2 separate regions of the Homo sapiens genome follow, and region 1 is linked to region 2. Evidence: promoter capture Hi-C in 16 types of primary human blood cells and fetal thymus (Javierre and others, 2016). All regions are on one chromosome and are shown on one strand. Each heading gives the region's core, a stretch centred on a gene start or on the middle of the fragment in contact. The rest is flanking DNA. Distances are from core to core; before and after follow the strand shown.

Region 1 (5,131 bases), core at 1,723-4,222, 360 kb after region 2:
TGCCCTCTCTTCTCCTTGGGTGCTCCTTTTCCTTTCCTCTTTCTTCTTTGGTCAGTAGACTTCAGGTTTGGCTTTAAAGCTGCTAGCAGGTCAGCTACACAAAGGCAGTGTTTATTTTAGGCTCCTTTTAGTTGGAAGATGTTATTTAAAAAAACTTCAGGAACGTGCATGAATCAACAACTTAAAGCTAAAACAAATCATCCCTTCTCTGATTCCAGTTATGATGATGACTTTGTGAAGCATGTGACCTTCTGTTTGCTTTTGCCAGGGACAAGGAGGCCTTCATGGGGATGGAGAGGGAATTAAAAGAAAAATTTCCATTTGGAAGAGGTTGGCAGGGTCTTTTCCCCCCAACTTCTAAGAACGAAGGATCCCAAAGGAAAAGTTTCTGTTTAAGTTTTTGGCAGTTCCTGAATCCTTCTCTTGTTTAGCTAGAAATCTGAACTCCTTGTTGGGCTCTCCTCCCCTTCCTGTGCCCCGACTGTCTGCTGCCTGCCCGCCACATGCCAGCTTGTGAAGGCTGGGGCTAGCCTCTGGTGAGCTTGTTTCCGCCCTGGCTTTAAAGAGTGTGCGGAAACCCAGCCTGGTGGGCGAGGTTGTCTATCACATAAGGGCTCCAGTCGCCCCCTGGTGGCCATTGGGCACCAATCTCCTATTTTGTTTCAAAGCCTAAACAGCGGAGGCAGCTTTGGAAATAGATGTAGGAAATTGGACAGTGGCCTGGTTTTTTACCAGTCTCTCCAGAGACTCCAAAATTTATAAGATTTTTGACTAATCAGGAAATCTAGACCAGGAGTGGTGGCTCACACCTGTAATCCCAGCACTTTGGGAGACCAAGGTGGGAGGATCATTTGAGCCTAGGAGTTCGAAAACAGCCTGGACACCATAGTGAGACCCTGTCTTTACAAAAAACTGAAAAATTAGCCAGGTTTGGTGGCATGCACCTGTGGTCCCAGTTACTCTGGAGGCTGAGGCGGGGGGATTGCTTGGCCTGGGAGATTGAGGCTGCGTTGAGCTAGGATCATGCCACTGCACTCCAGCCTGGGCAACAAAGCAAGACCCTGTTTCAAAAAAGAAATCTACGTTTATGAAGATAAGTTTGTTTCCCAAGTTTAAAAAAAAAAAAGGCAATCTTAGCCAGGTGCAGTGGCTCACGCCTGTAATCCCAGCACTTTGGGAGACCGAGGTGGGTGGATCACGAGGTCAAGAGATCAAGACCATCCTGACCAACATGGTGAAACCCCATCTCTACTAAAAATACAAAAAAATAGCTGGGCGTGGTGGCGGGCACCTGTAGTCCCAGCTACTTGGGAGGTTGAGGCAGGAAAATGGCGTGAACCCGGGAGGTGGAGCTTGCAGCAGTGAGCCGAGGTCGCGCCACTGCACTCCAGCCTGGGCGACAGAGCAAGGCTCCATCTCAAAAAAAAAAAAAAAAGGCCATCTATGTGAGATAGTGAACATTACCGTGGCTTGGCATTTTTGTTGGCTTGTACCTAGCCCAGGTGAATAGATTATTTACAGTAAGTTTTCTGGTATGTTAAAAGTAGCTCATCCCCACTCTTACCAACTTTGAGGACTCTGGAAGGTTTCAAGGTGCCAGATTGAGAGCTAATCAACTATTTCAGTTTCTTCATCATATAGATGAAATAATGGTCAGACAGAAGGCCACATGATAATTGGTGACAGACTAGAACCTGTCACCAGTTCTGAGCTTTTTCCACTAGAGCAGTGGTGTCCAATATTTTGGCATCCCTGGGCCACATTGGAAGAAGAATTGTCTTGGGCCACACATAAAATACACTAACATTAACAATAGCTGATAAGCTTAGAAAAAAAAAATTGCAAAAAAAAATCTCATAAATTTTTTTTTTTTTTTTTTGAGACGGAGTCTCACTCTGTCACTAGGCTGGAGTGTAGTGCAATGGCATTATCTCGGCTCACTGCAACCTCTGCCTCTCGGGTTCACGTGATTCTCCTGCCTCAGCCTCCCTAGTAGCTGGGATTACAGGTGCCCGCCACCACACCCGGCTAATTTTTTTGTATTTTTAGTAGAGATGAGAGATGGGGTTTCACCATGTTGGCCAGACTGGTCTCGAACTCCTGACCTCATGATCTGCCCGCCTTGGCCTCCCAAAGTGCTGGGATTATAGGTGTGAGTCACTGCACCTGGCCTTTTTTTTTTTTTTTTTTGAGACAGGTTCTTGCTCTGTTGCCCAGGCTGGGATGCAGTGGCATGATCTTGGCTCACTGCAATGTCTGCCTCCCGGGTTCAAGCAATTCTCATGCCTTGGACTCCTGAGTAGCTGAGACTACAGGCAAGTGCCACCAGGACTGGCTAATTTTTTTAATGTTTTTAGTAGAGACGGGGTTTCACCGTGTTGGCCAGGCTGGTCTCAAACTCCTGACCTCAGGTGATCCATCCGCCTCAACCTCCCAAAATGCTGGGATTACAGGCTTGAGCCACTGCGCCCAGCCCATAATAGTTTTTTTTTTTTTTATAATTATTTTTCATTTAACATTCAGCTGTTACCAAAATCTCATAGTGTTTTAAGAAAGTTTATGAATCTGTGTTGGGCCACATGTGGCCCAGAGACCATGGGTTGGACAAGCTTGCACTAGAGCATCTGAGCTTTTGAGGGCTCAAGGGATGAATACATCACAGATGCACTTGGTTTTGAGGGCTTCCTACATGTCAGCCTCGCCTGTGCTTCTCATTCCTCCCCAGATTTTTGGATTCCTGGTTTGCATGGGGGTGATCCTGGCCATTGGCAATGCCATCTGGGAGCACGAGGTGGGGATGCGTTTCCAGGTCTACCTGCCGTGGGATGAGGCAGTGGACAGTGCCTTCTTCTCTGGCTTCCTCTCCTTCTGGTCCTACATCATCATCCTCAACACCGTTGTGCCCATTTCACTCTATGTCAGGTATGTGCCTTCTCTGACCTGGGGTCTCTCCAGGGAGTCAGGCGGTCCCATAGAACTTTTCTTTTCTATGAAGATGAAGTCCTTGAGAAGTAACGAGAAGTCCTCTTCTTCCTGTACTGTAAACATTTGATGTTATCTGTTTATCTTTGTGGGCAGAGCAAACTTTTTACCACAGTTTCCTGGTACTTGGGACTGTATTAGAGAAAAAAAAATATTGATTTATTCAGCACCTATTTATTACATGCCTACTGTGTACAAAGAAGTGTGCTAGGTGCCATCACAAATAAAAGATGAATTAGGAATGGATCTCCTTCCTTCTAGGAGCTTACGTCTAGTAAAGGAAGGAAAATCTAAACACATTATAAAACAAAATAGGAACCAGTGCTGTAGAATTCGACCTAGAGTCTTCTATGTGAAGCTTGGGGATACAGAGATGTATAAGGTGGCCTCTGCCTTTAGCAGCAGCAGATGGATAGGTCGAGGAGGGGAGATCTGGACAGTGTCAGACTGAGATACCATGTGGGAGGCACAGGGTGCCCGGGGACTGGGAGAGTGTCGCTCCCTAAGCAGGTAGGCAGAGAGGGAGAGATGGCATTTGCTCTGGGCTTTGAGTGGTGACTGGGCTGGATGAAGGTGGAGCCACAATGGAGAGGAGGCTGAGAGGGCTGGAAGCAAAGGTGTGGAGATGGGAGCCTGGGAATGGCCTATGGAAATAGTTGGCCAGGGTCTTGGGCCAAGAGCAAGAGCTGGAAACATAGCTTGCTCCTGATTGTGGAGGCTTTTGAATATTTGCCTGTGGACTTTGTATTTACTAACCATTAAAAGTTATTGAAAAGACTGGGCACGGTGGCTCACACCTGTAATCCCAGCACTTTGGGAAGCCAAGGTGGGCGGATAACGAGGTCAGGAATTCGAGACCAGCCTGGCCAACATGTTGAAACCCCGTCTCTACTAAAAATACAAAAATTAGCCAGGTGTGGTGGTGGTTGCCTGTAATCCCAGCTACTTGGGAGGCTAAGGTAGGAGAATCGCTTGAAACCGGAAGGTGGAGGTAGCAGTGAGCCAAGATCACGCCACTGCACTCTAGCCTGGGCAACGAGCGAAACTGTGTCTCAAAAAACAACGAAACAAACAAACAAACAAAAAAGTTTTTGAAGAAAGTCAAAAGAATGTATTCTGTATTCTAAAAATGCATTCTAAGTGTTACAGCTCTTTTAGAATTTGTCTAGCAGGTTTTCCAGTTTTCACTGGAACCCCTCCCCCACAAAAAGAAAAAAATGCATTCTAAAAAAAAACTAAAGAATGCTTTAGGAAGTATTGACTGGCAGTAGTGTACAGCATGAATAGGATCAAGGCAACATGTAGGATGTTTGAGGTAAAGAGAATGTTAGCAGGGACAGGCCAGTGAGAATGAAGGGGAGGATCGGAGGAAGACGAGGCAGGAGGAATGGCCAGGGGAAAGGAACTTTCTTGCTTAGTGCCTTGCACTTGAGATAAGGGAACCTGTGACATTTTTAAGGAAATGTTTTATGGAGGTGCTGAAAACTTGTCCTGTCTCCCATCTTTTGTTCATACAGATTCCCCAAATAGCCCTCAACTCTCTCCCAGCCCCCAATCTTACTGCTGGTGATAATAAATAGAAGATACAGCATTTCTGTGCTGAGAGAATATAGTTTAGGCTTTTCCAGGGTGTGAAGAGGAGAGTTGGGAGGTTCTGGGTTTAGTCCTGCCTCCTCACTGGCCATGTGACCTCAGGAAAATCCACGGTCACTCAGGGCCTCACTTGATCTTAGTTTTCCCACGTGAAACAGGAACAGGAGTACTTGTCTCACCTTTTAATAGGATGTCTTGATATAAGATATTGGCTTAGAAGATACATTTTAAACTTAAGTGACTGTACAGTTACTGGGTGGTAGCCTGCTCATTGTGACTGTTGCCACTCCCTTCTGCATTACTATTTAAATGCCTTTGTGCTTACAACCTAATTTTGTTTTCCCACCTATGGGCTTTGCTATCTGTGTTTTGTATCTCAGTTCACTTGAAGCCCTTGGGAGCAGCTAAAGCAGTTTTCTTTCTGAGTCTCATCAGGTCACAGTGTGTATGTTTCGGGAGGCTAAGAGGGGGTTGAAGAGCTGTGTGAGGAAAAGGCCCTTTGGAATGTGAAGACATTCCCATTTGCCTGGTAATGGGATCCTGATAGGTGCCTTAG
Region 2 (5,116 bases), core at 2,582-5,081:
ACTACTGCCCTCTTGCCTTCACCTCACAGTGACTTCCAGAAATATCCTGACCCACAAGGACGTAACAGAAAATCTGGAGACCCAAGTGGTAGAGTCCAGACTGAGGGAGCCACCTGGAGCCAAGGATGCAAATGGCTCAACAAGGACACTGCTTGAGAAGATGGGAGGGAAGCCAAGACCCAGTGGGCGCATCCGGTCCGTGCTGCATGCAGATGAGATGTGAGCTGGAACAGACCTTCCTGGCCCACTTCCTGATCACAAGGAATCCTGGGCTTCCTTATGGCTTTGCTTCCCACTGGGATTCCTACTTAGGTGTCTGCCCTCAGGGGTCCAAATCACTTCAGGACACCCCAAGAGATGTCCTTTAGTCTCTGCCTGAGGCCTAGTCTGCATTTGTTTGCATATATGAGAGGGTACCTCAAATACTTCTGTTATGTATCTGTGATTTTATTTCTTCTTTGGGTATAGGGTTGAGGGGAAATAAGTTTTGAGTGAGAAATAAACGTTTTAGCTGAAATTGTATCCCAGAAGTTTGAAATAAGTAGTAGAAGAGGGGGAAAACAAGGGAGAAGTGGTGGGGAAGACTTGGTAGATTGGGGCCTTAAGTAACCACCTCCTTTCCCTCTCTGCCCCCATGACTTCCTGCTCCAAGTTACAGAAGGGAAGGAAACCATTTTACTCTTTTTATTCTGCTCATTAATGATCTGAAAGAAGAAGATGGGGAAAAGGGGATTCCACCACAAGGCTCCAAAGAACCAAGAGTGCAAATCAGTCCATTTCACTTTCACTGTCTGAGATAGGGTCTCTAAGACCCAGGATACAAGGGTGGAATGTAGCTATATGGACTCGATTTGCTTCCGGACCTTTTCCAGAGCCTTTCTGTCCAATTGTCGCTGACGAATGATGACAAGACAAGCGAAGATCAGGGCCACACACACGACAGCCCCTTCGAACTTCCAAAATAAGCGTTGTTCCATCAAAGCTGAGCGGCAGCTGAGGGCAGGAAGGAATAGTTATTCCCAAGGAAGGCCAGACAGCTTCTCCCTCTAATTTCCCTTCTACTTCAGCCTAGCCAGGATACACTCAAGAGGAAATCAGAGCCAGGCTTCTATTGTGTGTATAGTACATAAATCCCTCTCAAATAGATCATTTAATTTATTCTCTGGATAAGCAGAGCTAGTATTAACCAATTTTACTGATGAGAAAATATGGCCAATAACATAGTGCTGAGGAGTAGAGCTGGGACTTGGGTTCAAGTAATTTGGCTCCAAATCCCGTCTTCTTTCTTATTATTTTTGAGATGGTGTCTCGCTCTGTCACCCAGACTGGAGTGCAGTGGCGTGACCTTGGCTCACTGCAACCTCCACCTCCCGGGTTTAAGCAGTTTTCTGCTTCAGCCTCCCAAGTAGCTGGGATTACAGGTGCCCGCCATCATGCCCAGCTAATTTTTGTATCTTTAAGAGAGATGAGGTTTCACCATCTTGGCCAGGCTGGTCTTGAACTCCTAACCTCGTGATCCACCCGCCTCGGCCTCCCAAAGTGCTGGGATTACAGGCGTGAGCCACCCCTCCCAGCCTCTTTTTTTTTTTTTTTTTTTTGACACACAGTCTCGCTCCATTGCCCAGGCTGGAGTGCAGTGGCATGATCTTGGCTCACTCTAACCTCTGCCTCCTGGGTTCAAGTGATTCTCCCTGCCTCAGCCTCCCAAGTAGCTGGGATTATGGGCACCCACCACACCAGCTAATTTTTGTATTTTTAGTAGAGATGGGGTTTCACCACGTTGGCCAGGCTGATCTCGAACTCCTGACCTCAGGTGATCTGTTAGCCTCAGCCTCCCTAAGTACTGGGATTATAGGTGTGAGCCCGGCCCCCTCTTCTTTCAGATATTCCATGCTACCCCCAGACCAGGGGAAAAGGTGGGACCATCCATCTAAAGTCATAGGAGCAAAGGAGGTGATCTCAGAGAAGAGAAACAGCACTCACCTTTTGAACTCATTTCTCTTAGATGAGCTGCATGTGATTTTCTCTACATATCCTGTGGGACCACACTCAGGGGTAGTTTTCTGCCAGGAGAAAAGGAGCAAAGTACATGTTAGGAAGGGGCAACAGGATAAACAAAAAGGCTGCCATTCAGAAGGTGCAGGTGCCCAACTGCTATGGTTTGGAGTGGTAGGCAACAGAGAGCTAATGAAAGAGTTCTGATGCGGATGGTGGAGGTGGTGGTTGCATGATTACGAATGTATGTTAGAACACTTCAGGGGCAACAGTCTAGGAGTGGCAAAGATACATTCCATTCCAGAGCCTACTATACTAAAAGTGAATAAAACATAGTTATTTGAGGCCGGGTGTGGCGGCTCACGCCTATAATCCCAGCACTTTGGGAGGCCGAGGCGGGCAGATCACGAGGTAAGGAGTTAGAGACTAGCCTGGCCAACACAGTGAAACCCGAGTCTACTAAAAATACAAAAATTAGCCAGGCATGGTGCAACGCGCCTTTAGTCACAGCTACTCAGGAGGCTGAGGCAGGAGAATCGCTTGAACCCGGGAGGCGGAGGTTGTGGTGAGCCGAGATCTCGCCACTGCACTCCAGCCTGGGCAACAGAGTGAGACTCCGTCTCAAAAACAAACAAAAAAACCATAGTTATCAGTTGAATACTGCCATTAGCTTGGAAAGAAAGGGGCACATTTTCAGGGGAAAGACAAGTACAGATTTGGACATACACTGAGACTGCAAGAAGAAAGAAAAAAAGATGATGCAAAGGCAGCTTAATAAGACTTGGATGTTAAGATGTTGCTTAAGTGTTTGCTTAGATGTTTAAAAAAAAAAAGGGTAGAGAAATAGATACTCACAGCCCGGAAATTAGAGCATGGAGAGCACTCTTCTGCTACCACAAACTCTTCCACCAGCCAGCATGGCAAATTTGAGGTGCTTGCTGAAAGGAAAGATAAATGCCAGCCCCAGGCCATTCAGAAAACATTTCTCCCAGGCTCTGCCCATCCAACTTCCCGGCACAGCGCTTGCCCTCATTCCATGTGGTGCCGGCCTTTTCCACCTGTGCTCTTGGTATATGGGGAAGATACTAAAACCAAAAACAAACGACGGGACGTGTCGGGTTCCCAGACAATCACCCACCTGACAGCTTCTCTTCCTGCACGGGAGCCTCTGCTTGGCTGTAGCGGAGTTGGGGGAAGGGACAAAAGTCAAAACCCAGAAAATAGGGCACCCCCTCCTGCGCTGTCCATGGATAAGATCTCCCCCAGCCCCGAGGCCGGGAACGATCCTGTCCTCCAGTGACCTCCTTTTCCCTCCCCTTACCTCCTCCTTACCAGAGCTTTAAGGTGAAAGCACAGAGCAACCAGCAGAGGTGGCGGCCCTGGGGGAGGCCAGGCCTCCCGGCACCCGCAAGCATGGAGCGCCAAGTGTCGCACCTGTCGGAACAGAGGGACCTACTCCACAGGCCTCGTGCCTCCGTCGGAGCGCAGAGGCGGCACTTACTCTGCAGCCCTCCCAGAGGTTCCAGGTCAGGGCAGGGAAGGCCGGAGTTGCCTATTGGAGCAGAGGATCTATCAGGACGTCCCCGTTGCCACAGCGAGAAAAATCGATATGTTTTTGCGGGCTAGGGAGGCGAGCGCCTTCTGCGGGGTCCGCAGGGCGCTGGAGGAAGGGCCGGCGGGGGCTCGCGGCCCTAGCGCCCGCTCACCTCCGCTCCCGCCCCCGACGCAGCCATCTAGCCCCGTGGAGGATCCTCGGGCGCGGGACCGAGCTCGGGGCCCGGTGTTCCCGGGGGCGTTCGGTCGTCGCCCGCTGGGGCTTATAGTCTTCCGCGTCGGTGGCGCCTCGCCTGCTGCTCACTGGGAATTAGCTCGGCGCCCCGTTGCATTGTGGTCTTGGTAGTCTTTGCGAGAACGGCAAATGGCGGTTGCAGAGGCTCGTCCGAATTCTCGGCTCGCTGCTCCCTGGCTGGCGCGTGTTTGTTCATTCTGGGCTAGGTGAGCAGGGACAATACGTCGCCCTCTCAGGACTTTGCTCTCTCCTTAAAACCCGAGGATTCACCGTCAAGCTTCTGGTTTCTCTGACATCCTTCCCCAGCCGCCCCTTCATCGCCACCGATGATCCAGTGGAGAAGCTGTGTTGGAGGTCAAGGGATGGAGGCGAAACTGCGCGTTCTCGTCCCTGCAGAAACCGGAATATCCGAGACACATGACGAACATGAAACTTTCTCCTTGTCTCTTGGCTCCCACTCCGCTACACAGATGAACGGTGTTACCTTCCCTCATGTTACTTTGCTAAGCCTACTCCTCAGAGCTGGTCCTTTGCATAACCTCTTCAAATGCTCTCAACTCTCCCTTGCTCCTACATAATGGAGTAATCATAAGTGCAATGAGAAAAGCATGAGATTTGAAGTTCCATAAGTATTGAGTCTAGGTTCTGGTGGTTATTAACTCCATGATCTTAGGAAAGTATCTGTCAGTGTTCTGTGTAAAACGGAAATGCTAATGTGTATTTACCAGGACTTTTTCTTGCGAGAGGCAGATGAAATGTATCTCCGTTTCATGAGTAAGTTCAGAGAATATAAGTGACTTGTCCAAGGTCAGCAAGCTAATGAGTGGGAAAGCTGAGGCTTGAGCCTAGACTGTCAACACCCAGGCCAAAGATTCATTGCCTGCTTTTCATCTTATGGAGTTAAACCTTGATACACACTCAGATCTGCAGTGACTTGACCAGCACTGTGGGTTCATGCTTTACTGTCTGATAACGAATTTTCATTTAATTTTATTTTTTTTCTTAGACAGGGTCTAGCTCTGTCACCTAAACCTGATGAGGGCTGAGCCTTCATTTCGCCGTTTTTTGTTTGTTTGTTTTTGTTTTTGAACGAGATGGACTCTGGCTATGTTGCCAGACTGGAGTGCAGTGGCAAGTCACAGGAGCCATCATAGCGCATTACAGCCTGGAACTTCTCGTCTTCAGGGATCCTCCCAAGTAGCTGGGATTTCAGGCATGTGCCACCATACCTGGCTCTAATTTTGAATTTGTTTCTTTAAATTATTATTTGTGTTTGCTGAAATTGTGTGTGTATTATTTTTGTGTATGTGTGTGAGTAGTTATATGTTACAT

What was found. Contacts are between HindIII fragments. The CHiCAGO score rates a contact against its expected background, and 5 or more counts as called.
Region 1: a fragment that was not itself captured here is called in contact with the fragment with the promoter of JTB in region 2 in 1 of 17 cell types (total CD8 T cells); the score reaches 5.3 in total CD8 T cells.

Annotation. Positions count from the first base shown.
Region 1 is chr1:154,334,623-154,339,753 of GRCh38, forward strand. ATP8B2 (ATPase phospholipid transporting 8B2) reads left to right here. Exons shown (of 28, transcript NM_001370597.1): 12 at 2,726-2,922. It also overlaps the pseudogene RNU7-57P. Among named protein-coding and RNA genes, the nearest start is that of ATP8B2, 12 kb to the left of the region's middle. The HindIII fragment of the contact is 731 bases long and covers 2,608-3,338 here.
Region 2 is chr1:153,973,843-153,978,958 of GRCh38, forward strand. It overlaps JTB (jumping translocation breakpoint), which reads right to left and starts at 3,832. Exons shown (of 5, transcript NM_006694.4): 1 at 3,328-3,832; 2 at 3,134-3,171; 3 at 2,851-2,933; 4 at 1,984-2,063; 5 at 427-993. The coding sequence starts at 3,410. The coding sequence ends at 837. It overlaps JTB-DT (JTB divergent transcript), which reads left to right and starts at 3,901. Exons shown (of 1, transcript NR_186180.1): 1 at 3,901-5,116. CREB3L4 (cAMP responsive element binding protein 3 like 4) reads left to right here. Exons shown (of 10, transcript NM_001255978.2): 10 at 30-517. The coding sequence ends at 223. RefSeq lists enhancers at 2,004-2,653, 3,303-3,951, 3,953-4,002 and silencers at 3,673-3,722, 4,011-4,305. The HindIII fragment of the contact is 8,938 bases long and covers 1-4,059 here.